Linked DNA regions of Homo sapiens: all the other regions are linked to region 6. Evidence: promoter capture Hi-C in 16 types of primary human blood cells and fetal thymus (Javierre and others, 2016). All regions are on one chromosome and are shown on one strand. The core of a region is centred on a gene start or on the middle of the fragment in contact, and the rest is flanking DNA. Distances in the headings are between cores, read along the strand shown.

Region 1 (3,706 bases), core at 858-3,357, 270 kb before region 6:
ATTTTTCTGATGTGTCTAGGCTACACAGTTCATCTGTGAGTTTTCTCAAATTGTCACAAAAATCTCCAAAACATTTTTCAATGTATTTATTGAAAAACATCCTCATACTAAGTGGACTCATTTGGTTCGACCCCGTGTTATTCAAGGGTCAACTGTATTAAGAATGATGACTATATTTGCTTAGCAAATCAATTTTCTTGCATCTTCGCCAGTGGAAGCATTAGCTGCTTGCACCAGTATAAGGGGAAGAGGAGGAACATAATTTTGACCTCAAACAAGAAGTCTCTGGGTCCAAGGAGACCACCTGGAGAAACTATTCCATCACTATCCCAGTCTTGAGCACATTGAGCTGAAAGAATACTCAGGATGCCTGTAATCCCAGCATTTTGGGAGGCCGAGATGGGTGGATCATGAGGTCAGGAGTTTGAGACCAGCCTGGCCAATATGGTGAAACTCCATTTCTACTAAAAAAATACAAAAATTAGCCAGGCGTGGTGTCACGCACCTGTAATCCCAGCTACCAGGGAGGCTGAGGCAGGAGAATTGCTTGAACCCAGGAGGCAGAGATTGCAGTGAGCCTAGATCATACCACTGCACTCCAGCCTGGGTGACACAGCAAGACTCCATCTCAAAAAAAAAAAAAAAAAAAAGAATATTCAGGATGTTTGAGGATGCGGCAAAAGATAGGCCCTCATTTCTGAGATTCTGATAAGAGACATCATACATTATTGATGCTAACACACATCTTATCCAACTGTTTTTGTGGTCCACAAAAACGGACTTTACTCACTGGCATATTTGGTCTCCAGTCTTTGACATTTCTAATAAAAATGTGCTCATAAAGAGGTTATACCATTAACCCTGGGCAACTTATCTACAGTGGTCAGCTTGTCTTTTTAAAGATTTATGCTGTCCATTTGAGACAATGCTCACTGCAGGCCAATATCTCATGATTGATGTGTGGAGGCTCCTGGGAAATGCTGGTCCATGTCTGATCCCAGGCTTGAGAGCAGTGACACATAGGTGTCTGGTTCAGATACAAACCAGTGTTTGACAGGCTCACAAACCACAGAGTGAGGAAGAAATATATAAAAATAACAGTACCTGGTATATGTTTTGAGAAGTTAAAATGCCTTGCCTTAGATTAAGACTCTTAGTCTCAGTTATCTCAAAAGAGGGTTGTGAGATAATTGGAATCTTGTAACACACTGCGAGCAACCATGACCCTCTTGTTAGAAGCTGGTGGAAAGGAATTGTAGGAAGGGGACATGGGAGAAAGAGAATGGAAAACACAAAGGCACAGGGAGATGTCAAATGCTCAGTGGTGGGCATGTGGCTAGAGGTATTGAGATCTTGGAGGCAGGAAGGGGTAGGGGTAACAGGGGAGCAGAAGACATTTATAATCCCTCTTTCTCATTCCCAAGAGACCAGGGCAGAGGAAAGAACCCAGAATTAGAGTTGGATTTCCTAAGGGATTACAAGGTTAAGTGGAAGAGACCTGGGGACAACAACTCTGGTTTTCAATTGAGTTATCATAATATTAGAAGAACAGCACCTCAGAGGCCAAGATAGGAACTCATAAAGAAAATTAAATAAAACAGGTTAGCTGGTCCCAGTGGCTCATGCCTGTAATCCCAGCACTTTGGGAAGCTGAGGTGGGTGGATCACGAGGTCAAGAGATCAAGACCATCCTGGCCAATATGGTGAAACTCCGTCTCTACTAAAAATACAAAAATTATCTGGGTGTGCTGGCGTGCACCTGTAGTCCCAGCTACTCGGGAGGCTGAGGCAGAAGAATTGCTTGAACCCAGCAGCAGAGGTTGCAGTGAGCTGAGATTGCAGCACTGCACTCCACCCTGGCGACAGGGCGAGACTCCGTCTCAAAAAAACAAAAACAGAAACAAAAACGAAAAAACAGGTTAAATGCAGAAATACGATTTTAAGTGTAACTTTTTATAAGTAAGTAAAGCCACTATAAATAATGAAAAATATTTACAAAACACCTTTGTAAAGCTTGTAAAAACATTGGCTATCATAGGGTGCTTAATCATAAGCCTAAGACATACCGGTTATCATTCACATTCCAAATAAGTAATTCAGAGAGTATTTTTCATCCATAATAAAGCTATCAATCAAAGACATGAAATACAGTCTTCCAGTGGTAATTCTCATGGGCAGGACAAGCATTACATCTCACAACTTAAGCTTAGTAATCCAATAGTCAAAGATGAAAAATAGGGATGGAAATTAAATTTAGACTGTTTGCTGTTATGATTACTAGGGAACAATAGGTCATGTAATTAACTGAAGAACATACTTGATCCTCTCAGGATCCTACTCAGTAACTTCATCCTGGGTAGGAAGCATGTTTAGAAGAGAGATATTATTTTTCCAGGATCCAGGAAAACAGGGCTTTACCATCTCTCAAAGTGGCTATCACTTCCTGTCCTGGGCATCAACCCTGTGTAGCAGACACTGCCCCTCTCCCCTCAGGCCCTACTGCAATAGTGCATGATGGATTCCCTACTCCCAGCATCTCTATGGAATCCAGAGAATTAACAGTCCGATCTCCCTAGAGTAACCTCAACCCATGACTGGTGGAAAGTGGTGTATATTATCTCAATTCCTTCACCCCTCAGGTCGGGGAAACTCAGAGGTGCAAGATCTGCCATGGTTCCCATATAATGGTTCACCCTTTCTTAGCTGCCTTCCTTGGGAACTGACTCTTCCTTGGGGTCCACCCTTGAAGGTGAACTCTTCATGCCCTGAGGACTATCCATAGCCCAAAGCTGCACAGAGAAGAAACTCTGCAAAAGGTGACTATGGGAAAAGAATAGTAAAGCGTGGGTAAGAAGGGGATGCTAGGTGGAGGAGCTGTCTGGAAATTCATAAGGGACCAGTGGGTGGGACCCCCTCCCAGGGAGCAATTGGGAATAAACGAGATTTGATGCAACCCTGCCTTGCTTCTCTTTTGACTTTGAATTGAAGGTGCACCCCAATTCTTTTGCCTGTAAACCCATTGCTGGCTTCTGTCCTCACTACAGAATCTGTCCTTGTGTCTGCAGCCTTCTCGGCCAGCTTCTGATCTCTTCTCTCCCCTAGTTCTTGGTCTGTTCCAATGCCATTGGCTTTAATGCTGGATCCTCTTGTGATGCTTGTTCCCAAAGGGGATCCTCTCCCAGAGATCACACTCTTATACCTGTTCCTGTGCACAACCACAGGGCCATTTCAGATCTCTATCTCACTGTGATGCATCCTGTATTTTGTCAGCAATCAACCCGTTTCCTACAACTGCCGAAGAACCCTTCCTCCTTTGTGGTAAAGGCTATATTCCATTTTGAATACTTTGAAAATCACAGACTGTTTAAAGAAATAAAAACAAAAACTAGGAACCAATCAACCATTTATCTTGCCCCCCACCTTTGGTCCCCTGCCACTTCGATTATTTATTTGTTTATTACCAGATCCTTCCTTCTGCTTAAACATCTTTCTCACAGTCTGGCAGGAAGAGCCATCTCCCAGGCACACACCGCAGCGATCCTCGGTGGCATTGGAATCGATCTCATAGTCACAGCCAACCATCTGTGGGGAAGAGAGGTGGAGGATGAATGCCCAGGCAGGGGATGCCACTCTTGCCTGGATCTGTGACTTCTTCTTTCCCCTTTGGTGCTTCATAAGACTGGGCAGGAGGTACCAGGTACAAGGA
Region 2 (3,683 bases), core at 10-2,509, 430 kb before region 6:
GACAATCAAAGTTATGTTCCATGGTTGAGTGCACTTTGTCTTATTTGTATGTGAAAACTCACACAGTAGGAAGAAGTTCTGTATTGGTTAACTGAGTTCTCAACTGGAGACAGCACTGACTTCCCCATTTCCCTTTGCGGGTAGGTGGCATTCCAGATTATGTGGTGGTAAGCTTTTCTTTTGCGGGGAGAGAAGACAGGGCAGTACTCCTGATACCTAATAACTATAGAGCAGACATGTTAAACACCCTGTAATTATCAGGCCACTTCCCCAACTGCAGAATTGCCCATCTCACGTGCACACACAGGACCCATGTTGAGAAAAATGAAGAAACTGATGCCTTATTCTTTAAAGTAGTTATAAGTTGAAGATGTAGACCTATCTTGGCATTCTAAAATTCTGTAACAACCCTTCTGAAATGGGTGTAATAAAATGTCAACAGGTTAATTGGTTCGTGATCACTGTGGCTTAAAAATCTAGTTAAAATGCTAAGACTTGTGCACAGTATAGGCAAAGTCACTTAGATTGTTTCAAAAAGTATGCCTTATAGAAATAAACATTTGACATACATAAATAACCCTTGGTTTACACATAACTCGCATTTGAGAAATGAATGTGTTGTAGATCATTTAGAATCTTTTTCAATCAAAAATTGAAAGAAATATTTCGTCACCCAGGTCAACCAGAGATTGCTGGTTTTACTCATGATACTTAAGTAGAGTATGATAGTTACTATTTCACCTTCAGCTGTACTTAAGATGTTTTCCTGGAAAAATTCATTCTGCTTTCTGACCAGGATTTCCAGAAACTCTGACCCTTCTAAGAGGTCTGGGTGGAATTGTGATGGTGATTCTGCTAGTAGACAGTGTAACTTCTGCGTCTACAAAAAGAGGATAGGCCGTCACTGCTCACATGGCTTTGCGTGAAAGCCCAATGGTACTGTCTCTATGGCAGAGATGAGGAAGGAACACCAGCGTCCTCCAACTTTCCTGTTCTTCCTTTGGGTTAATGGCCACTGTAAGGAAACAGTTTTCTGCCACGTGTGGGGTGATTTGAATGTAAAATGCCCAACTCTCATAGCAGGCTGAACAGAAACATTTTTTATACTCATTGTTAATTTGTTCTAATCTAAATTACTTTTAGACTATTAAATATTATTCTATTTTAAAGTTAAGGGACTAATGCCTCTGATAACCTGATTAAAAAAAAAAACTTTCTGATACTCAGAAGTTAAGATTTATTCAGTTGAAGATCATTTCTTTCAGGTGTTGATCGTGTGATATTTTTCACATCTGTAATCTGAGGTTCATATGAAATGATAGTGAAATAAAATTGTTCATTTAGGTCTTTTTGTCATGTTAATATGTTATCAGGTTAATGGGAAGTTTAATCTAGTTAATGTAAAATTAATAAATTGTAATCTAGTTTATTGCTTTTTTGGAAAAGAATACTGAAAACATTGTTTACTTAATACACATGACCTGAGGTAATAAAGAGGAGCTGGCCTTTTTGAGGGGGGAATAATGGCAGTGAATAATATTATCTAAGACAGTTTTGCCAGCTTTAAATTCCTGGAAGTTCATCCAAGAAGTCCTGATCCCTGTGTTCAGTAAAATCATGTGAGATCAAAATATAATTCTGATTTTAGATCTGACAAATTCTGTATCTCTGTTACAATAGGTACGACAACAATTCCACGATGCCAAATTCATGGCAGACATTGATCTGGATCCAGGCTGTACATTGAATAAAAAGATTCGAAATGCACAGTTAGCACAGTATAACTTCATTTTAGGTAAGAATGGAAACTTACCAAAGAAAATTTGCCACACCTCAGGAAAATCTACTGAAACCTTGAGACAGGTTTAAGTGAATTGTAATCAAGAATTTATTTAGTTCCTTCCAGTCCTGATTTTTTTTCTATTATATATTTTAATATATAATAACTATAAAAATAGGCTCATGCATACATACTGGGTTTTTTTTTTTTTCACTTAAATCATGGATGTCTGTGAGAAAATATTTTGCTATTATAACAAGAATGAAGACGCATTGCTTTTAAACACATCTATTGGATTACTTTCTCAAGATAATGCCTTATGTGGGATTACTTGAAAAAAGATATTCATGATGTTTGGGGTTTTATTATTTGGTTGTTACGTTGTCTAGATTGACTCCATAAGCACAGTAGTTTTAGATATTGCAAAGAGTTTCTTTTAAATATCAACACATGGTCACTTGTACCTTTTAATGTATCAGAAGCTATGGGGTAGGTTTTGGGTCCTAGGATCATTTCTTTTCAGATGTTCAGTGTGAATTCTTCCATATCTTTAGATTAAGTCTGACAAAGCTTTGTGTGTTTGTTTTAGTTGTTGGTGAAAAAGAGAAAATCAGTGGCACTGTTAATATCCGCACAAGAGACAATAAGGTCCACGGGGAACGCACCATTTCTGAAACTATCGAGCGGCTACAGCAGCTCAAAGAGTTCCGCAGCAAACAGGCAGAAGAAGAATTTTAATGAAAAAATTACCCAGATTGGCTCCATGGAAAAGGAGGAACAGCGTTTCCGTAAAATTGACTTTGTACTCTGAAAACGTCAATTTATATTGAACTTGGAGGAGTTTGGCAAAGTCTGAATAGGTCAACCTGCAGGCGTAACTATTTTTGACCTAGTCAGTTTTTAAACAATGTGCATTTGAAGGAGTTAATTAAAAGAGAGCCAATAAAATGATTTTACTCATTCAGTATCTGAGTACTGGAAGTGAAACATGAGGAATGCTTTAGTGTAATGTGGGAGAACTTTTTTGTAAATTTAATGCAATTGAAAAAGTTTTCAAATTCAATTAAGATAACTAGAATTGGATTATGGTGTAAAAATAAAAAAAAAATTTATTCACATAAGTTTCAAGACTGCTCTGTCCCTCACATGTACACATACATGCCTGAGACAGATAATGTGGTTCAGTATTTATCTTTACAGTTTTACAGCAAATATAATGCAGGGTGGATGGAGACGGGGTAGGTCTGCAGCATCATAATGCTATTCATAAACTGGGTGTGAGCTGGGTGCTGGCTTCTCAGAGGATAAACACTTTTGGGAGTGTCATTTTTACTTAATGTTGGATGGACACCTTTTCAAACAAAAACTACCATGGATCTATTACAGAGTAGATTTGCACAAATGTTTAAGATAAAACGTGAATCTTCAGAGAAATATCTGTTTATGGCAGACTGTTCTGGACCATAGAATCACTTGGTTTACAAATTCCCTATTTTCTCATAAGGGATCATTTTCAAAATCTTCTACCAATAAATGGTGATTGAAAGGACAGCACAAAGTAAATAATTTCTTATGTGGATAAATACTAATTCCTCCTTGTTAGAATGATATTTTAAAAGTAACATCTTTTTTTTAATTTTTTTTGAGACAAGATCCTTTGTCCCCCAGGCTGGAGTGTGGTGCCATGATCTCGGCTCACTGCAACCTCAGCCTCCCAAGTAGGTGGGACTAAAGACATGTGCCACCATGCCTGGCTGATGTTTGTATTTTCTATAGAGATGGTTTCATCATGTTGCCCAGGCTGGTATCAAACTCCTGGATAAAAGAGACCCACCTGCCTCAGTCTCCCAAAGTGCTGGGATTACAGGTGTGAGCCACCACGCCCAGCCTAAAAAGCAACATC
Region 3 (4,076 bases), core at 472-2,971, 390 kb before region 6:
ACGCCTTGCTTGGCCCTGGGCAGTGAGCTGGTCTACCACCGACGGCCTGGGGAGGAGGGCACTGTCATGTCTGTAGCTGGGAAATACACATTGAACAACTGGTTGGCAACGGTAACGTTGGGTTGGACATAACACCACAAACCCAGTGACCAACTGCAGGTGGATGTGGAGTTTGAGGCCAGTACAAGGATGCAGGACACCAATGTCTCCTTTGGGTACCAGCTGGACCTGCCCAAGGCCAACCTCCTCTTCAAAGGCTCTGTGGACAGCAACTGGATTGTGGGTGCCACGCTGGAGAAGAAGCTCCCGCCCCTGCCTTTGACACTGGCCCTTGGGGCCTTCCTGAATCACCGCAAGAACAAGTTACGGAGTGGCTTTGGCCTCACCATCAGCTGAACCCTCCTGACCCTTCCACGCCCTTCCTACTTCAGATTCTATTTCCACCCTCCTCCTGCCACAGAGAGGAGACCTGGGGCCCCCTCCCCCTCCCTTCCCTTCCTCCTCTGGGGTCAGGCGGACAGCAGAAAGGAGGGACCCCACCACCCTAGCGGCTGAGAAGGGGATTATGGAACCAGCTGGCGCTTCGGGATTCTGAGTACCAGGGGCAGCGTGTCTAGTGGCCCTGGGGTCAGTCCCAGAAGGGATTCTGGAATTGAGTGGCACACAGGATTCTGAGCACCAGTGGTAGAGGCAGCCAGACAACCTCAGGGAGGAATGTCCTGGAGTCCCCATCCTCCAAAGGGCCTGGGCCTGCTCCAAGGGGGCAGCGAGAGGAGCTTCCCCATCCCCGGTCAGTCTGCCCTGCCCCTGTCCACTTTCCCATCTACCCCTCGGTATAAATCATGTTTATAAGTTATGGAAGAACTGGGAGATTTTACAGAAAAATAATATATATATATGTGGAAAAAGAAAACAAACAAAAAAAATGAGGCAGGACACAGGTCACGTCCAAGAAAGCCAGTTAGTTCAGAGAGTGTGGAACAGGGTTGACAGTCAGCATGGAATGGAGGTTTTGTGGGTCAAGGCAGCAAGTCCACATCAGTGAGGTCAGACCCTGGCACCAGAATTCCAGGACAGTTGAAAGACAGAGCTGAAGGCCCAGGCCAACAGGAAACAAGAAACTGGACACCAGCACCAAGCATAGAGCTTGACCCTGGGCACACTGTCTTCGGAGCTCCTCTTCCACTCCCAGCATGGGGCAGGACTGATCATGCATGATGCTGGGACTCAGTTTATAAAAGGAGACAACGTGGCTAGAGTACAGGAATGAGAAGGCCAGAGGCCAACAGTTCCTGCCAAGTTGGGCTCAGTGAAAGCCATTATCTTCCCTTTGATCAGTCACTCCAAAAAAATATCAGGATGTTCAGGCCATCTATTTCAGTGTTTGATCATGCTACCACAAAGAGTCTTTTGTGTGGATATATAGTCTTTGCCTAACAAAGCCACAAAATACAAAGAATATGCTGAATTTTTCTTTTTCTTCTTTTTTTTTTTGAGATGGAGTTTGTCTCTTGTCCCCCAGGCTGGAGTGCAATGGCGCGATCTCGGTTCACTGCAACCTCTGCCTCCCGGGTTCAAGCAATTCTCCTGCCTCAGCCTCCCGAGTAGCTGGGATTGCAGACACATGCCATGAGACCCAGCTAATTTTTGTCTTTTTAGTAAAGACGGGGTTTCACCATGTTGGCCAGGCTGGTCTTGAACTCCTGATCTCAAGTGATCCACCCGCCTTGGCCTCCCAAAGTGCTAGGATTACAAGTGTGAGCCACTTTGCATGGCCCTCTGCTGAATTTTTCTACCTGCTTGGCTCTGTCGTCCATACTGAAAACTATCAAACCTATTATGTAGCATGTGATATTTTGTATTACTTGCCAAAGATAGCAATTCAAGTTTTGGAATGGAATCTAGCAAAAGTATAAAGCAGGAAGAGTTTTAGTATGAGCTGATGATAATCATTTTTTTTGCCAGAATTATTCAAAATGTGATGTGGTAGCCAGCCTCCAAGAGGACTCCCTGCAATCCCCACCCGCTTGGTATTCATACCCTTTACTAGTCTCCTCCCACGTTGTATGAGGGTTGGCCTGTGTGACCAATAAAACACAGACATTGTCAGCATTCTGGTCCTTTTCTGGATTAGTGTTTCCTAAAGTGATGTTCTTCAAAATCAGATTGAGCAGAATGACAATTGTTGCTATGACAAAGAAAAAGAAAAAAAAATTGGAAAATAACGTGCTAAGCTAAATGAAAAAAGTTTCCATATTTTTAGGACTTCCCAGAGCCTTTAATATGGTAAGTGCAGTGTGAAACTGTAGGAAGAGTACTGAGAATTCAGGGTATTCTAATCCTATTTGACCCTGGGAATCTTGTTTTTGGGGGGGAAGGTTTGCAGTGTTATGTTCGCCAGTATTCACTTTGGTGAATGCTTCTCTAAAGTTTTCTTGGCTGGGCACGGTGGTTCATGCCTGTAATCTCAGCACTTTAGGAGGCTGAGGTGCTCACATCACCTGAGGTCAGGAGTTCGAGACCAGCCCGGCCAACATGGTGAGACCCCCATCTCTACTAAAAACACAAAAAATTAGCCGGGCGTGGTGGTACTTGCCTGTAATCCCAGCTACTTGGGAGGCTGAGGCATGATAATTGCTTGAACCCAGAAGGCAGAGGTTGCAGTGAGCTGAGATTGTGCCACTGCACTCCAGCCTGGGTGACAGAGTGAGACTCTGTCTCAAAAAAAAAAAAAAGTTTTCTTTATTAATATTGTTTTGAAAATGTAGTATACTAAACAGAACATGATACCTTTCATGTGACTGACCAGTAAAAAAGAAAAAAAACTCATTATAAGATGTAATTTCAACTTTATTAAAACAGAAGTCTTCTTTCAACCCATTGATAGCTGAGACAATCCTTTCATTTTTTTCTTTCTTCTCGGTACCAGGAACCTCTCTATACAGCCGGCCTCTATTCTGATGTTGGGGGAAAAAGCACATATGGCATAAATAGGCTGTAGCATTTTTTGAGAACCAAATTATTTTAGAAAAATACTTTAGAAAATATAATATTCTTTTTTTTAAAAAAGCCCACTTTATAGTTGATAGATACAAAAGGAGATGTAGGGGTAAATTTTTAAAATGCTGAATCAAATTTTTGTGGCATGATGCCAGGAAATTCTTTCCCTTTGTTTTAACTGAACAAAGTTGCAAGATTTTATTACTCACCTTCCTCCAGTTAATTTATTTTAATTAATTAATTATTTTATTTATTTATATTTATTTTTCTGAGACAGGATCTTGCTCTGTCACCCAGGCTGGAGTACAGTGGTGTGATCACGGCTCACTGCAGCCTTGATTTCCTAGGCTTAAGCAATCCTCCCACCTCAGCCTCCAGAACAGCTGGGACCACAGGCATAAGCCACTATGCCTGGCTAATTTTCTTAATTTTTTGTAGAGATGGGGATCTCACTTTGTTGCCCAATCTGGTCTTGAACTCCTGAGCTCAAGTTATCTTCCTGCCTCAGCCTACCAAAATGTTGAGATTACAGGCATGAGGCACTGCACCCGGCCTTCACCCTTGCTTAAACTCAGTTTAGGTTTCATATAGGCCTGTCTTTCTGGTTAGATTTGACATGAATACTGAATCAAGATCCCTGAATTACAGACTACAACTCTCAGCTTCCTGAAGATTATTACTCCTTCACTTGTGTTATTTTTAAAATTCACTTATTGCCTTGGATTTGAATCTTAAAAGTTTAATCACAAAACATCAGCTTCATACATTTTTAAAATTAATGGCACAAAATTGAATCTTAGAAATTCAAAATTTTTTAGTATTAATTTTTTGAAGGAAGAACAAAGACTTTCTTATTTCCAAATCTATCAAATTAGAGAAATTAGAGTAAACCTGTAATACACCTAGTGATAATGAGCTCATCTCATATAAAGCCAAGGACTCAATTCTTATCAAGGGAATGTTTCAGTATTTTACATGTTTATATCTTGGTTACGCCTTTCTCACTTGGAAAGTACATTGAAATTACTTGTTGTATTTGTCCGTTTTCACGCTGCTGATAAAGACATACACCCCTG
Region 4 (3,772 bases), core at 343-2,842, 370 kb before region 6:
TGGAACTATTGACATTATGAGCCAGACAATTCTTTGTTGTTGAGGGAATGTCGTCCCACAGAATGTTCAGCAACATTCTGGGCCTCTGTTCACTAGATGCCAGTAGCACTCCCTCCCTCCCCCACTGCCCAGTTGTGAAAATCAAAAATGTCTCCAGACATTGTCAAAGATCCCCTGCGGAACAAAAATCACTCTCAATTAAGAGCTACTTTTCTAGTGGAAAATGTACCCAGTATAGTGGGAGCAGAGTATAACGGAAAATGGACCCTGTCTTTCTGGCAGCGTCAGGGTAGGTGTCCCAGGGGAAGTAGCATTTGAGCTGGGCTTTGCAGTATTAGAAAGATCTCATAGTCACAGATAGAATAATTTGTAAGGTATAATCAGGGAGGTATCCATGGCTCTCTGTGATGCCTTCTTGACCAAAACTACATTTCCTACTATTCCTATTCATGCCCTCAAACATCCTAGGGATCACCTGGAGAGGCCTGGCTCTTCCCTACCTCTATGGTTTTGTTTATTCCATGTGAGTAGACTCTATCACTATATGTACAAATTCTGCTTTTGCTAGTTGCATTTACTGAGCTGTACACCCATCTTTGAATAAGGATTGAATTCCCAAAGCAAATTCCCCTAGAGATGGGTCATTTTCTCTTAAGCATTAGGCCTACACTTTGGATAGATGAAGGAGTAGGTTCTGCTGTGAGCAGCATGAATATGTTGAATTCAGTGTTTTGGGGAATTTTAGGCATCACTTCAGATTATCATATGGTGGAGTGTGGCAGTTGTTGCACATTCATGAGAAGAGACCGGCTTACCTGGGATGTGACTCATCTGATGATGTACTGGTCTAGGGGTAGGGTAGGAGGGAATCTGGAATGAGTGTGGGAGGAAGAAATTGACAGCATCCTTTCCCAGGTTGCTAAAATCCATAGTAACACTGGTGGGTGGTGGGAGTCTCACAGCAGGGGTAAAAGAATCACACAGAAACATCAATGAGTTTGGCTATTTATTGATGCCACACAGAGGGAGGTTATGATTACAGTCTGGTTTTAAGTACTGAAATATCCACCAAGGTACCCCTTGAGGAGGCTGGGTAGAAGGGGAAATGGCAAAGCAGCACAGAGATGCAGGGAGGGCAATGGGCTGGGCCGTGTATGTCATACAATTATTTTGGAGGACAATGATGGGTAGGATTGTGCTTTACCCACCATGTTTTTTAGTAACATAACTTAGAATACTACTTGAATAAGCAGTACAGACAACAGGAGTAGCATCAAATATGTTAGCTAGGTTGTAACACCAGGCAGTTCATGTCATGTGGCCTCTCCTTCAAAAGTGAATCACTGTGGACCAAGCACCAGAAACATCGTCCCAAAGATTCATCTTGAAGTCAGAAAGGAGAAGAGCTAAGACCTGCACTCTCTGGAGTAGCAGTGTGCAGCTTTCAGAGTTTGGAAGATTTTAGTCAACTAAATGGGATGTTATTATCTAAAACAATATAATCTCTCACATTGTGTTTCAGATACTGGATGAAGGTTATCAGAAACATTCACTGACTATCTGAAAGCATCACAGTGGGATGTCAGCGGAGACGTGGCTGTCTCAGGAGATTGGACGGAGGTGTGCTCTTCTTTAAGAAAACCCATCACAAAACAAAGCATTCCTACAAAGGAGGCACTGAAACGATTTCCTGATTGAAGAAAGTAATCACTATTAAGTCTCCTGGAATATTGTTCTCTCGTGGTGTGTTTAATTACATTTTCATGTTTAAGAATTATATTAACCCACAACTTTCCAGAGAAGAGCTAAATATACTACTGTGAAAGACAACGTAAACCAAACTGGGTTTTAGAACGTTAATGTAGTTAAGTACCAGGCCCTGCGATGGCCCTCTCTATTTCATAGAGATATGTATCCAGTGTCTCCTGATACACTTCTCAGTTGCTTGATCCAGGTGAGAAGAAAGAAGGGCCTAGATAAAGTAAATCAACAACTCTGCTTCATATCAGCACCCAAGTATCAAAGATGTAAGATACCATGCAGGTTCCTGTCTTCAGAGTCTTCCTGTTGATCTGAGTCCCCTCTTGTACAGCAAGCACTGGGACATGTCAAAATACTGACGACTCATCACTGAGTGATCGCCAAGGCAACAGATGATACCAACAGGACAGAAAACAGCAAGCCCTGTCTTCATTCTGGAGTCAAGAATGATGGACATCACACAGCTGTCTTACAACATAGCTCCAGAACAGGAAGCAAATATCCATGGCAAATAATTAGGAGCCAATGTTCTGCCTTTGAGAAACTGGAAAAAGACCTAGAATGGAGCACCTGGCCAAACTCTCTCCACATGTCTACCATCTTCTCCACCACGTGGATTGTAAATAACGTGGTCCATTTTGTACACGGAGAAATTTGGCCTAGTTTAGTTGGTTGAGGTCAGTAGGAATCTGAGTTTGTTCCTGAGTTTTGTAAGCCTGGTCATACCCAGGTCTCTGATGACACGTATTTGACCCTATGCTAGTACAGTACCAGGTTAAATCAATCTAGCTTACTAAATGAATCCCCCTGAAAGACTACACTACACTTCAGGGACAGTCTTTGCAAACTGCCTCATTAGTAAATATCAGATTCTCCTCCACTCATGTCACTAACAATTTAAGTGTCTCCTCTCCTCGAAAACCATTATTCACCAGAGATTGCTATCGGCCAGCAATGTTTATGTTTAAAGGCAGAGAATACAATAATGTAATTATCATCTAGAAATAAATTCTCTGGCTTTAGGTAAACATTTGTACTTTCCTCCTGTTTCTGGTCTATCTTGAATTTCATCCCAATCCCACTGTTTTATTTTTCACAGGAATTCATGAGAGTAATACACGTTAATGGCTTGGAAAAAAATAAAAAGCACATAATATTAAATCTTAAATTCAAGGTACCCAAGCAATAAAACTGGCATTGGTCAGCAACACCGTTACATGTTTAACAGAAGATGTATATGGAGAGTTTCACATACACTTACCCATTTGTATGCCTATCTATGTTTACATTAATTCTGCCACCATCTAGATATTAGCACCATTTTTTTAATAGCACCATTCTGCTGAACGGATAGGTAAAGGGAGACGTGGGATATTGTGTTCCATGAGGAGTATTAAGTGTATCTGTGCATGAGTCAGAAAATATGCTGCCCATCACATGAAGGCCACATCCTTGCCTTTCTCCCTGTCAAGAATTGGTTCTGATATCTTCTTTCATTTGAAGCTTATGCCCCTCCACCCACCCACTTACCCTCTTTCTCTGGGTTCAGTTCATGTAAGTACCTTCCCTTAGAAATCACTTTGTCTAGAAATTTGCTCTGAATTTGAGACCAAGCCTACTTTGACTTCTGGTGGGAGGTAGGAACATCCAGAACAAGCATTCTAACTTTCATTTCAGTTTCTTTGGACTCCCTGATTCACCTGTTCTCCCCAAAGTAAAAGATCTTTAAGACTAACTACATATTGGGTACACTGAGGAGTAGATCCCCTTTACCTTACTTTTTAGAAATGTTTTTTCTCTAGATTAGAAGTTTGCACTATGTTCTTGTACTTAGTACAATTTACCTGGTTCTTTGAAATATTTTAATATGGAACCTCCATTTTCCAACCTGAGAAGAGGTGAGGACAGGTGGCAGCCCTAGAGCTGGTCATAGTGGTCTTTGCATATACAGCCCCTGCAGCAAGACGATGGTGGGACCTGAGCTCAGGCCTCCTGTGGGGACTGGAGGATG
Region 5 (3,843 bases), core at 380-2,879, 460 kb before region 6:
TACTAATTTTCCACCAAAATATTTTCTTCCCCTCAATAACAGAAATTAAGTGAGGTACATGACTCTTTAGCTAGAGACCAGATTCCTCAGCCTCCCTAGAAGCTATGCAACTCAGTTTGGACCAGTGAGATATGAGTAGAAGTAACTATGTGCCACTTCTGGGTCTGGGCCTTAAAACACTTGGAATAAGCAATTCCACTCTTTTTTTTGCAAATTGAAATGCAGAAATGCCAGCAACCCAAGTACAACCATGCAGATGAGAACCCTCTAGAGAAAGGGTTAACAAGCTATCACCCATAGAGCAGCCACTTGGTTTTGTAAATAAAGTTTTATTGGAACACAGCTATGTCCATTTGTTTACAAAGTATATATAGCTGCCTCTGCACCACAATGACAGAGAACTTAAGTAATTGCAACAAAGACCGTGTTGGGCTGCAAGCCTTAAATATTTGCTATCTAGTGTTTTCAGAAAAAGTTTACCAACCACTGCACTAGAGCAAAAAGATAAAAGGAACTTGGGGCCCTACATAGCTGTAACAGAAAAATAAGTAATCATCTAGTTTACTGTCATTGTATTTTGGAGCCTCTCTTCTACCTCTGTTTAGCATTTACTGTAACTATTGTATCTTATGAATTGGATTTCTGTTTTCTTCTATCTGATTGCTAGAAATAGGGGCTTATGATGGCTAGGGGAAAGCATGAATGTGGCACCATGGTCTTGTTGGCTCCCAAGTAGGTTGTACCAGCAGAGGACTCCAATTTTATTAAGCTTCCAAGCTGCTTCTCACTGAAAAATTCAGCTGGCTATGTATATCCTTGAACTAGCATAGTGTCTCAGATTGAAATATTGGTATCAACATTCCCAAACTCAGTTCTTGAGAGATAATTTAAAATAGTCCAACAGGTCAATGGGAAGATATGATGATTAATTTACATGTCAACTTGACTGGACCAGGGATGCCCAGACATTTGGTTAAGCATTATTCTGCTTGTATCTGTGAGATTTTCTGGATGAGATGAACATTTGAATGGGTGGACTGAGTAAAGAGTGCCTTCCTTAATGCAGGTGGGCCTCATCCAACAATTAAAGACCTGGGTAGAACAAAAAGGCTGAGTAATAGGGAACTCCTCCTGCCTGATTGCTTGAGCTGGAACATTGTGCCTTCAAACTTGACTGAAAAATGGGCACTTCTTGGATCTTGAGCCTGCTGGCTTTTGGACTGGAACTTTTACCATGGGCTCTCCTGGGTCTCCAGCTTTCCAATTGCAGAACTTGGGACTTCTTAGCCTCTATAATCTTGTGAGCCAATTCCTTCTAAGAAATCTCTCTCTGTCTCTTTCTCTGTCTCTGTGTCTGTCTCTCTCTCTCTCTCCTCCCCTCTTTCTCTCTCTTCAGATAGGTAGGTAGGTAGGTAGATAAATAGATGGCAGATAGATAGATAGTAGATAGATGATTTTGTTTCTCTGAAGAACTTTGGCTAATATTCAGAATATTTTTTATGTATACACAAATTACTCATATATTGCTATAAGAAACAGGACTTGAAAAAATGTTTTTATTCATAATCACATCACCATAATTGAATCATTGGGTGGGAAGTACTCAGAAACAACATGGATATGTGCAGATTTGTTTGGAGGAAAAACTATCAGACTATACAACTCAGAGAACCAAGTGATTCTTTACCAGCAAGCACTCAAGTTCCGTATTTTTAGAAAGACCTTCCAGTTACTGCCCTTATATGCATTTTTTTTTTATTTGATGAGGCCCAAAAGATTGTACAGAAGAATTTTCATTTTTTTAGACCAGTATTCCTAACTGTAAGTAATTTTGCCCCCATAGGACATTTGGCAATGTCTGAAAGCAGTTTTGGTCATGACAACTGGGAGAAGAGTGCTATTGATATTCAGTGGGTAGAGGTCAAGGATCCTGCTAAGCACCTATAGTACACAGAACAGTGGCTTCCCTCAACAAATAATTATTTAGCCCCAAAATGTCAATAGTGCTGAGTTTGTGAAAAATCCTGCTTCAGACAATGCTTTTGATATCCGGGTAAGGCCACATATCAAAGTCCAGCAGCCATTTATTTAGTAAAAATGAACTCACAGCCTTTCCTGGAAACTGTTTTTAATAGAGGTAGGAAGGATGAAGAAAAGTGTGAGGTGCTCAGATACCTTCAGGGAATGGCACAGATACTCTGCAAAGAAATGAGAAGGGAGGGACGCCAAAGGCAAATGCACAATTCTACACATTTACAACTTACTTTGGAGGAAAGCATGCCCTTTGGAGATGAGGTTCAGAACCTCCTAAAAGCTATCCAGAATGTATTCCTCATACGCTAGGCCTCTCAAAGCTATTTTAAATCTGTCTTAGTCCATTTTGTATTGCTATAACAGAATACCACAGCTAGGAGATTTACAAAGAGAATGAACTTATTTCTTAAATTCTGGAGGCTGGCAAATCCAAGGTCAAGGGGCCTATACCCAGGGAAAGCTTTCTTGCTGCATCATCCTATGGTGGAAAGCAGAAGGGCAAGAGAGCTCAAGAGAGCAAAAGAGCAAGAGGGGGCCAAACTCACTTTTATAGCATGCCCACTCTCACAATAACTAACCCACTCCCAAGATAATGACATCACTCCAATCATGATGGCAGAGCTGTCACGACATAATCACCTCTTACTAGGCTCCACACCCCAACAGTTGTATTGGGGATTCAGTTTTCAACACATGAACTTTAGGGGACACAGTTAAATCATAGCAAAAGCTCTCAGCAAAGAAGAGATATGACAAAAATGAAAACAAATTGAGGAATATTATCCATAATGGTTCCAAATAAATCTAGAGTAAACCAGAGAGGGTAACCGGCTAGAGCATTCATTTCCCCAAACATAATTAACTTTTATAGCCCTTTAGAATTTGCAAAGTACTTTGTATACTTGTACTTTCATTTTATCCTCCCAACAAGTTCTGGAATCAGGTTTATTACTTCTATCACCATTTTATAGCTGAGGAACATGATTATATCACACGGGGCTCCAACAGAGAACAGAGGGCACACTCGGGTTAGAGTAATTTAAAGAGGGTTTATTTAAAACAGATGAGAAGTATAGGGAGTCAGGATCCTACAAATAGTAATTGTGGGAAATCTGTAACCACATGTAGGCCAGGCAGGGTGAGGGTAGCCAGCATTTGCTGGAACCTAGAAGGGAAGTGTTCTGTAGTTATTGCTATGAGATCAGCAGTGACCTTTGGTTGTGAAACATCAGCAGCACAAGGCAACCTCCTCCTGGGAAGAGCCAGGGGTATACATGTCCTGATTTTGTTTTCTTCCCTCCCAACTCCTGCTGAGGGTCTCACTGGCTGGAAGCAACTGGAGGCCAATGGCCCAGCAGTCCATTGGTACAGGCCACACCTTTTCCCCTTCAACATCCTCTATAGCTTTTCATCCACATGAAAAGTGTGTGCCTCCAACACAAGGGACACATGAAGTCCCTTCAGAATGTGTATCATCATGGAGTGATCTTGATTCAATCATATTCCCTCACGAGAAGTAAAAAGTTAGCCACTCCTAGTATTCTTTATATATGATACATATATAAGGAAAAGTTGGGGGAGTGGAAAAAAAAGTAACAAAAAACATAACTTCTACAGGCCATACTTCTTTCTGGTCATGAGGGCTAATTTAGCAATCATAGCACTAGCACCAGCTCCATGGATGCACAACCTGGGGAGTCACACAGGACTCAATACTTAGAAGCGCGCTCTACACTTAGTTGCTGCTCCACTGTGCCTATTAAATAGATTGAAATTAACAAGGAGCCCTACATTTTTATTTTGCATTGG
Region 6 (3,724 bases), core at 529-3,028:
CTTTGAACGAAATCATCTCCAAATGCCCTGGGAAGTGCTTGCAGGCTTTGTTTGTGCTGCCCCAGAAGGGAGACTTTTCACAAAGGAACTGTTTTTCAAAGAACAACAAGCCCTGCTATTTTAAACTTGGGGGTGGGAGATTGTATCTGGACCGTTTACACAAGTGAGTGCTGGCTGACTGACATCTAACCCCAGTGTTTGCTGGCTCCAGCTTTCCAAGTAAAGCAAAGAGAGGGACTTGCTTCTGATACGTCTTGAAGCCACAGCAGATGAGTTGTCCAGCAATATTTGAATTTTACAACATGAGCAGAAAACCCTGCTTAGAAATCCTAAACAAGGACAGGCTGGTGATGTTTATCACCCGAGTGGCCTTGGGAATTAAAGGGATGTCAGAAAGTCATGGAGGACACTTCCCGAGGCTTCAGCACAGTCAGCAAACACAGGACTTAGTGCATGCTAACCCAGTGCTCTGTGTGCGTGTGCATGCGTGTGGGTGCATATGCGTGTGTGTGTGCGTGTGTGTCCCTATTATTGCTACAGGACAGTGCTGCATGATTCTAAGAGTCAGACTACCTGAGCTGAAAACTCTGCTCTACATTAGCTGGCCTCATAAGCTCTCCAAGCTGCAGCATCCTCATCTGTACAGCAGGGACAGCAACACTGGTACCTGCACCCTGGAAGGCTATTGCCAGTGATCGGATGGGCTGACACAGAGTGCCACGCGGGCCATTGCTGCTGCTAGGACTGTTTACCCCCAGAGGTACAATGAACCCCCCACCAAACATGAAGGTGCCTCTGACCCTTCCAAGTCCAATAAACTGCTGACTGTTAGGCTTAAAAGAATAAAACAACAACAACAAATTGTCCACCAGAACGCTTCCAATGCTTCCTACAATAACATGAGTTCAGAAATTCATAAAGAGAAGCAGCCAGCTGTGGTCAGTGAGACAGGACAGGAAAAAGTGAGCCCTTATGGAGGTATAGTTCCCCCAAAAGGACTATTCTTTCAAAAATACAACCCTAAATCTTTCCAGGAAACCAAAACACAGCCAAGCCTGCTCAGTAGGGGGGAAGAATCACATTTCCCCTTTCCTGACCAGAGGTTTAAAACTAACTAGAAACACTGCAATGACGGCCAGTAGCCAGTTAGCACTTAAAAAAAAAATTTTCCATGTTTAGAGTCTGAAAAATAGGGGATCAAAACAGTACAGCATTCAAAGAGGAGACAAAAGAGAAAAAGTTACCAGCTACCTCTTGGGTCTTTCAAAGACTGCAGTGTCATCCCTGTAAAAGAGTGAGGTACTCACCTTTCTATAAGAATGAAGGACTCATCACCTTAAGCACTGAATTCTGAGAAAGCCTAGGCTCCTGAGGTCCCAGCCCAGATTTCCTTACAACGCAGCCAAATGGCTTTTCAGAGTTCAGTTCTGCCGGGTGGGGGAAGGGAAAGGGGAGCAACAAAATTCCCGCAAGTCTTACCACCACTGTTTTAAAAAGAAATAAAGAAGAGTCACTAACCTTGCCTCCTGTCCGGGAAGCGAACCGGGCCTGGCTGAGGCTGTCTCCCATAGCAAAGCGCCCCAAAGTTAAGGAGCTGAGCCACCACGGAAAGGTTTGCAAGCCAGCTCCTCTGGGCACATGGCATGATTCAGATGTTGAGGAGAAGAAAAGTCAAAAAAGTTTTAGCCCTCAGCTCCAGAAATAAAGCGCTCGCCTGTGGCCCAGCAGGAAGATGCAGGGGTGCATGGTCAGGCGCGAGAAGGCAGCGACTGCAAAGCTGCCCGCGATCTCCCTGTGCTTTTTTAAGCAGAAAGGAGCTAGACACCTTTTTCCCCTCCCTCCTCCTAAAAGGGGAGTGATTCAGCTGACAGTGTCCGCTTTCGGCGGGGTGTGGAATGGGCCAGAGCGGGAGGGCGCAGCCCACCCCGGTCCCCACCCCTCCGCCTCCCGCATGCCCCGCGGCCTCGCAGCCCGCCCGCTCGGTGCATCTTCCTCCCGGACTCCCACCCCCGCGCTCCTCCGGCCCCGCCCCGAACGCCAGGCCCAGCTGGCCGAGCCGGCCAAATAGGGGAGACCCGGGAGAGCCGCCCTGGGAGGCACTGGAGGAAGCTGCGAGTGAGAGGCCCCCAGGCCAGCCCCCCGGCGTGCTTAAATACAAGCTCAAAATGAGGAGAACAGAGTTGAGGCAGAGGGGGGCCCCACTCCCTCCATCCTTCCGCGCTCAGCGCTGCCCCCTCCCCTGCTGTTCTCCTCCAAGTTCCTGAACTTTTCCCAACATCGCTCTATCAAGACTCCTCACCCACTCGGACCGCTCTGGGATTCTCTTCCACTGGAAAAACTAATAGGCGATTTTTCTCTTTGCCAAGTCACACAAAGGGAAATGGGCTGCGCTAATCTGCTAATGTGACCTCAGACAAGCCCCCTCAGCTGTGCAATGAGGTGACTGCTGCAAATGCCTGTGGGCCCCTCTGAGTCTGCAGATCTCTGTGCGGCTCTTCTGATTCTAGAACCCCATCTTTCCTAGCCCACCTCCATTCACTCAAAAGGAAACCAGGAATTAAGTCAACCCAGGAAGGTGTTAAGGTATCTCCCCAGTTTCCCTGAACTGGCTACCCTGGAGAGGGCGTCCATTCATTCAGAGGCTCAAGCTTTTACATCGGTCAGAGAATGCCACAATCCAGGACGCTTGCCAGGCATCTTGAGAATTTACTGGGCTAATCCAGCCAAGATTTTTCACCTCTGAGCTGAAACAGGCCTCCTTACTCCATTCAGGAAGAATTCGGCCCCCAATATTGACTTTTCCCTGGCTGCCAGCCAACCACATGTGTTAATCAAGAGTTCTGGGATACCAGCTTACTCAACCTTGTATAGGGACAGAGCCTCCAAGGCAAACTCAGTGGTCTGAAAGCAAGGTGGTCCTCTCAGATGTGGAACACATGGGCACCAAGACTTTGAGAGGTATATGCTAGTTTCCTATTTTTGGTGTTACAAGTTACCATAAATTCAGTGGCTTGAAACAACTCAAATTTCTTATGTGACAGTTCTGATCTGAAACTGGTCTCACTGGGCTAAAATCAAGGAGTTAGCACAGCTGCATTCATTTCTGAAGACTCTAGGGGAGAATCTGTTGTCTTGCCTTTTCCAACTTCTAGAGGCTGCCTGAATTCCTCAGCTCATGGCCCTCTTCCCCCATCAAAGCTAGCAATGGCCCTTTGAGTCTTTCTCACATCACATCACTCTTCTTCCTCCCTTTTCCACTTATAAGGACCCTTGCGATTACATTAGACTCATCCTGGTTAACCAGGACACTCTCCTAATCAGCTGATTAGCAACCTTAATTCCATCTGCAACCTTAAATCCCCTTTACGTGTAACAGAACATGTTTTGTTGTCACAAGCAAGTAAAAGAACTACTCTGAGCCTTTTTTCTGTTACGTAAACATTAGGAAGCAGGATCACAACTGGAGTTAAAAGACATTCAGATAACACAGGCATGATGACCTGCATTTGCAAGGGCATTGAAGAACAACTTTGGGCTAGAATTCTTTTTGCTTCTTTTCTTTTCTTCCTCTTCCCCTTCTTCTTTGCTTCCCTTCACCCTTTCCTTGTTTCTCTCTCCTCCTTGTACTCTTCTGTCACTCTTCTTCTTCCACCTTTTTTTCTCCTGCTGCTCCTTTTAATAGCAAGCAAGATCTTGTCCAAAGGGCAAGATCACTCCTAGCTCC
Region 7 (3,701 bases), core at 1,194-3,693, 410 kb before region 6:
AGCAATTTTTGGACTGTGTAGGTTCAAAGAATATCCTTTGAATAGCACTATTTTACATGCTTTAGATGTATTAACTAATTTAACCCTCACAATAACTCTACAAGGACAGTATTATTATTATACTAGTGAAGTAACTAATAAGTGTTAAAATTTTGCACTCAGGTTTTGGGACTCCAAGGCCCCTGTTCATAGCATGTTGTAGAGGGAAAGAGGGAAAGAGGTAAGATCAGGTAGATTTCTTTCGTCTCCTAGAGACCCAGGGTGGAATGAACAAATGAACAGGAAGCTGTGAAAACTAGTCTGGGGCAAAAGAGATGAAGTAGATTAGGGCATGGGATAGAATTGAGGTGGGCTGTAGTGGTTTATGTCATTCAGGACTAATGGAAGTTACCAGCAAATTCAAAGAATCAGAAGTGGGGTCCCAGGCCTAGCTCAGGGGTTGAGAGGAGGCCTGAATTTACAAAGGTCGTTGTTGCTTAGAATTGATTATAGTCTTCAAATAGAACATAAGGAAAAGAATATATGAAAGAGTGCCATTTGTTCTGTAAAGACATTCTAACCAAATGGCTAGTATGGACAATTACTTGCAGCTAGCAGAACAAAGAAAGTAATTGATCAAATGCAATTGAAAGAGATCCTTGACCTAGCTCTCCAGCCTCCTGCATATGTCATTTAGAAGGGCGACTTGACTCTTAATAAGTCTTTATTTCTAGAAAGTTTTTTCTTTTAAGTAACATGTTTAATGGGAAGATAATAAAATATTTTCAATGCTATTTTATTCTCATGACTTAAATAAAAACTTCAGGACTTGGGAAATATCCCCCTTATGATAAAGCAGACAAAGAGGTAAATGTATGGATTTCCTGAATTGTCTCATCAAAAGCAGTGTGGGTTAAAAACAGGAGGTGTGGCTGGGCCCAGTGGCTCACTCCTGTAATTGCCAGCACTTTGGGAGGCCAAGGTGGGTGGATCACTTGAGGCCAGGAGTTCGAGACCAGCCTGGCCAACATGGCAAAACTCTGTCTCTACTAAAAATGCAAAAAAAAAATTAGCTGGGCGTGGTGGCGCGTGCCTGTAATCCCAGCTACTCAGGTGGCTGAGACATGAGAATTGTTTGAACCCAGGAGATGGAGGTTGCAGTGAGGCCAAGATCATGCCGCTGCACTCCAGCCTGAGGACAGAACGAGACTCTGTCTCAAAAAAAAAAAAAAAAAAAAAAAAAAAAAAACCAACAACAACAAAACAGGAGGTGTTATTGAAGCTTTTCCTGCCAAAGGCAGAGAGGTAAAAGAAAACCAAGATGAGCGTGAAGGGCTGTGTGTGTCTGCGGGGGTGTGTGTGTGTGTGCTCTCCGATTTCCTTCTAGTAAAACTCTCCTAATCTAACTTGGCTCCATAGTGAGGCAGACATTACTGAGAGCAGTAAGTAATGTGACTATCTCAATTCACGGTAGACTCTCAACTTACTTATATGTAGACTTTGAAGAGGATGAGGTTTGGGAGTTGGGTTACAGGTGTCCATTTAAAATACTGAACCTACAATTTCTCCACCTCTGTTCCCTGCAGAGGCATTTCTGCAGGACATAGTATCAGGCCTGGTCCTGAAGTTCTATTAGAACTCTGCTCTGTCATCCAGGCTGGAGTGCAGTGGCACAATCTTGGTGCATGGCAGCCTTGAACTCCTTGAACTGCCTCAGCCTCCTGAGTAGCTGGGATAACAGGCATGAGAGCCACTGAACCCAGCAATACTTTATTTAATATTATTTTTATATTTATTTTTGTACTCTGCGATTCTAATAAATGAATAACACTTTATTTTAAAATAGGCTTTGCGTTAGGTTATTTTGCCTGACCATAGGCTAATATAAGTGTTTAGGGGAGGCTAGGGTAAGCTATGATGTTGAAAGGGCTGTGCATTAAATGCATTTTTGATTTCGGGTGGGTTTATTGGGACTCATTCCTATCATATGGTGAGAAGTGTCTGTATTTTCCCTATCAATTTCTATGTGCTGTGTGTGTGTGTGTGTGTGTGTGTGTGTGTGTGTGTGTGTCTTAGCCATTGGAGATTAAGTTGTAGACATTGTGAAACTTCATGCTTAAATACTTCAACATGTATCATTCTAAAAGAAGGACCTTTGTGTATTTGACCATATACCAGTTAAGAAAGACCGAGGCAGTGGAAATGGTCTGCTCTTGGTGCAGGCAATAATTAGGTACATTTTCCATAAAGAATTTTAAAACCATAATAAAACCCAACCATACACTGGCAATTCTGAAAATGTTAGTGATAAAATACCTCTCCCTAAAAAAGATTTTGTTGTTGTTTAGGCTGTAAAAAATTGCTGCTTACTCTTGAATGACACGTAAGCTTTGTTGGGGCTCAGAAAGCAATACCTGAAAGACTGGCACTCTGACATGCTAAGAAGCCTTAGGAGCTGCCTTATAATCAAAGCCTTTCTAAACTTGCCTTGTCCCCCTCTCAAGTGGAGATTCTCTCTGGAATTTCCTTATCTGACTAAGAAAGCTTCTTTCCAAATGACATGCAGTTGTCTTAAGACCCCTCCCTAAAAATCTCATCAAATAACCAGGCAAGATCAACCACCCAGAGAAGAGAAGAGACTAGGAGTCCTCATTACTCCCAGACAGACTTTTCATCTATTCTTCTTAGAGAAGTCCTAGAGATTGCCTGGGGAACCTTATCTGGATAATAAGACAATCTTTGTTTCTGTGCAGTTCCACCCTTCACATTCCCAAACAGTCATTTACTAACCGTTTTCTGAGCACTGGGCCTATTAATTCCCCAATTTTCCTCTTCACTGTGTCACACAGACTTCCTATCACACTGTTTAGGATGGAATGTCAAATACACTCTTTTAATTGGAAAGAAAATGTAAACAAGCTGTAAAGAAAAGAAAACAGGCTGTACAGAAAACACATTGTAACTCATTAAATTGGTATAGTTCATAAGCCAGCCTTATTTAGAGAATGTTATAATCCCACTAAATTTCTTTGTGTTCTGCCTATATAAGCAAGATCGTAACTTGAGAGCATTGACCCCATTTCTCTGGAGTCTGTGTTTCCTGGATGGTAACTTCCAGCGTTTTACTCAAATAAACTCATTAAAACTGAATTCTGATCCTTTTGGTTATTTCAGGTCGATGGAAATAAGAATGTTTTCTTACTCTGACTTCCTCAAGAATCTTTATGTTTTGAGAAAAATAAAAAAAGTGATTTGGGCTTGGTGTGGTGGTTCATGCCTGTAATCCCAACACTGGGAAGCCAAGGCAGGTGAATTGCTTCAGCTCAGGAGTTTGAGACCAGCCTGGGCAACATGGCAAATCCCCATTTCTACCAAAAATACAAAAATTGGCTGGGTGTGGTGGCACATGTCTGTGGTATCACCTACTCAGGAGGCTGAGGTGGGAGGACTGCTTGAGCCTGGGAGGCAGAGGTTGTAGTGAGCCCAGATCAGGACATTGCACTTCAGTCTGGGCGACAGAGCCAGACCCTGTATTAAAAAAAAAAAAAAAAAGATTCGTTTTTTTTTTTTGTATGCAGTAACTCTGGAAAACCTATCAAGTCTTTGTCTAACATTTCTTCCACTTTATCTGCCCACTTTTATGGTTAATAGATGGGGTCTCACTATATTGCTCAGGCTGGCCTCAAACTCTTGCACTCAAGAGTCTCCCACCTCAGCCTCCT

What was found. Contacts are between HindIII fragments. The CHiCAGO score rates a contact against its expected background, and 5 or more counts as called.
Region 1: a contact is called between a fragment that was not itself captured here and the fragment with the promoter of ADAMTS12 in region 6, in 1 of 17 cell types (endothelial precursors). The highest score is 5.3, in endothelial precursors.
Region 2: a fragment that was not itself captured here is called in contact with the fragment with the promoter of ADAMTS12 in region 6 in 1 of 17 cell types (naive CD8 T cells); the score reaches 5.3 in naive CD8 T cells.
Region 3: a contact is called between a fragment that was not itself captured here and the fragment with the promoter of ADAMTS12 in region 6, in 1 of 17 cell types (endothelial precursors). The highest score is 5.3, in endothelial precursors.
Region 4: a fragment that was not itself captured here is called in contact with the fragment with the promoter of ADAMTS12 in region 6 in 3 of 17 cell types (total CD4 T cells, endothelial precursors and fetal thymus); the score reaches 5.9 in total CD4 T cells.
Region 5: a contact is called between a fragment that was not itself captured here and the fragment with the promoter of ADAMTS12 in region 6, in 4 of 17 cell types (naive CD8 T cells, activated CD4 T cells, total CD4 T cells and 1 more). The highest score is 8.3, in naive CD8 T cells.
Region 7: a fragment that was not itself captured here is called in contact with the fragment with the promoter of ADAMTS12 in region 6 in 2 of 17 cell types (naive CD4 T cells and total CD8 T cells); the score reaches 5.5 in naive CD4 T cells.

The regions. Positions count from the first base shown.
Region 1 is chr5:33,620,770-33,624,475 of GRCh38, forward strand. ADAMTS12 (ADAM metallopeptidase with thrombospondin type 1 motif 12) reads right to left here. Exons shown (of 24, transcript NM_030955.4): 14 at 3,462-3,582. Among named protein-coding and RNA genes, the nearest start is that of TARS1, 180 kb to the left of the region's middle. The HindIII fragment of the contact is 192 bases long and covers 2,012-2,203 here.
Region 2 is chr5:33,465,191-33,468,873 of GRCh38, forward strand. It overlaps TARS1 (threonyl-tRNA synthetase 1), which reads left to right. Exons shown (of 19, transcript NM_152295.5): 18 at 1,681-1,795; 19 at 2,370-2,896. The coding sequence ends at 2,518. Among named protein-coding and RNA genes, the nearest start is that of TARS1, 26 kb to the left of the region's middle. The HindIII fragment of the contact is 2,178 bases long and covers 171-2,348 here.
Region 3 is chr5:33,502,738-33,506,813 of GRCh38, forward strand. It overlaps the pseudogene TOMM40P3. Among named protein-coding and RNA genes, the nearest start is that of TARS1, 64 kb to the left of the region's middle. The HindIII fragment of the contact is 5,698 bases long and covers 1-4,076 here.
Region 4 is chr5:33,522,542-33,526,313 of GRCh38, forward strand. ADAMTS12 (ADAM metallopeptidase with thrombospondin type 1 motif 12) reads right to left here. Exons shown (of 24, transcript NM_030955.4): 24 at 994-3,772. LOC105374717 (a long non-coding RNA gene) reads right to left here and starts at 19. Exons shown (of 3, transcript XR_925906.2): 1 at 1-19. The HindIII fragment of the contact is 3,340 bases long and covers 1-3,262 here.
Region 5 is chr5:33,430,867-33,434,709 of GRCh38, forward strand. The region is part of intron 1 of TARS1-DT (TARS1 divergent transcript); the gene reads right to left. Among named protein-coding and RNA genes, the nearest start is that of TARS1-DT, 7.8 kb to the right of the region's middle. The HindIII fragment of the contact is 1,725 bases long and covers 768-2,492 here.
Region 6 is chr5:33,890,212-33,893,935 of GRCh38, forward strand. ADAMTS12 (ADAM metallopeptidase with thrombospondin type 1 motif 12) reads right to left here and starts at 1,779. Exons shown (of 24, transcript NM_030955.4): 1 at 1,519-1,779. The coding sequence starts at 1,645. RefSeq lists enhancers at 1,061-1,562, 1,563-2,062. The HindIII fragment of the contact is 2,849 bases long and covers 1-2,646 here.
Region 7 is chr5:33,484,483-33,488,183 of GRCh38, forward strand. No RefSeq gene overlaps it. Among named protein-coding and RNA genes, the nearest start is that of TARS1, 45 kb to the left of the region's middle. The HindIII fragment of the contact is 156 bases long and covers 2,366-2,521 here.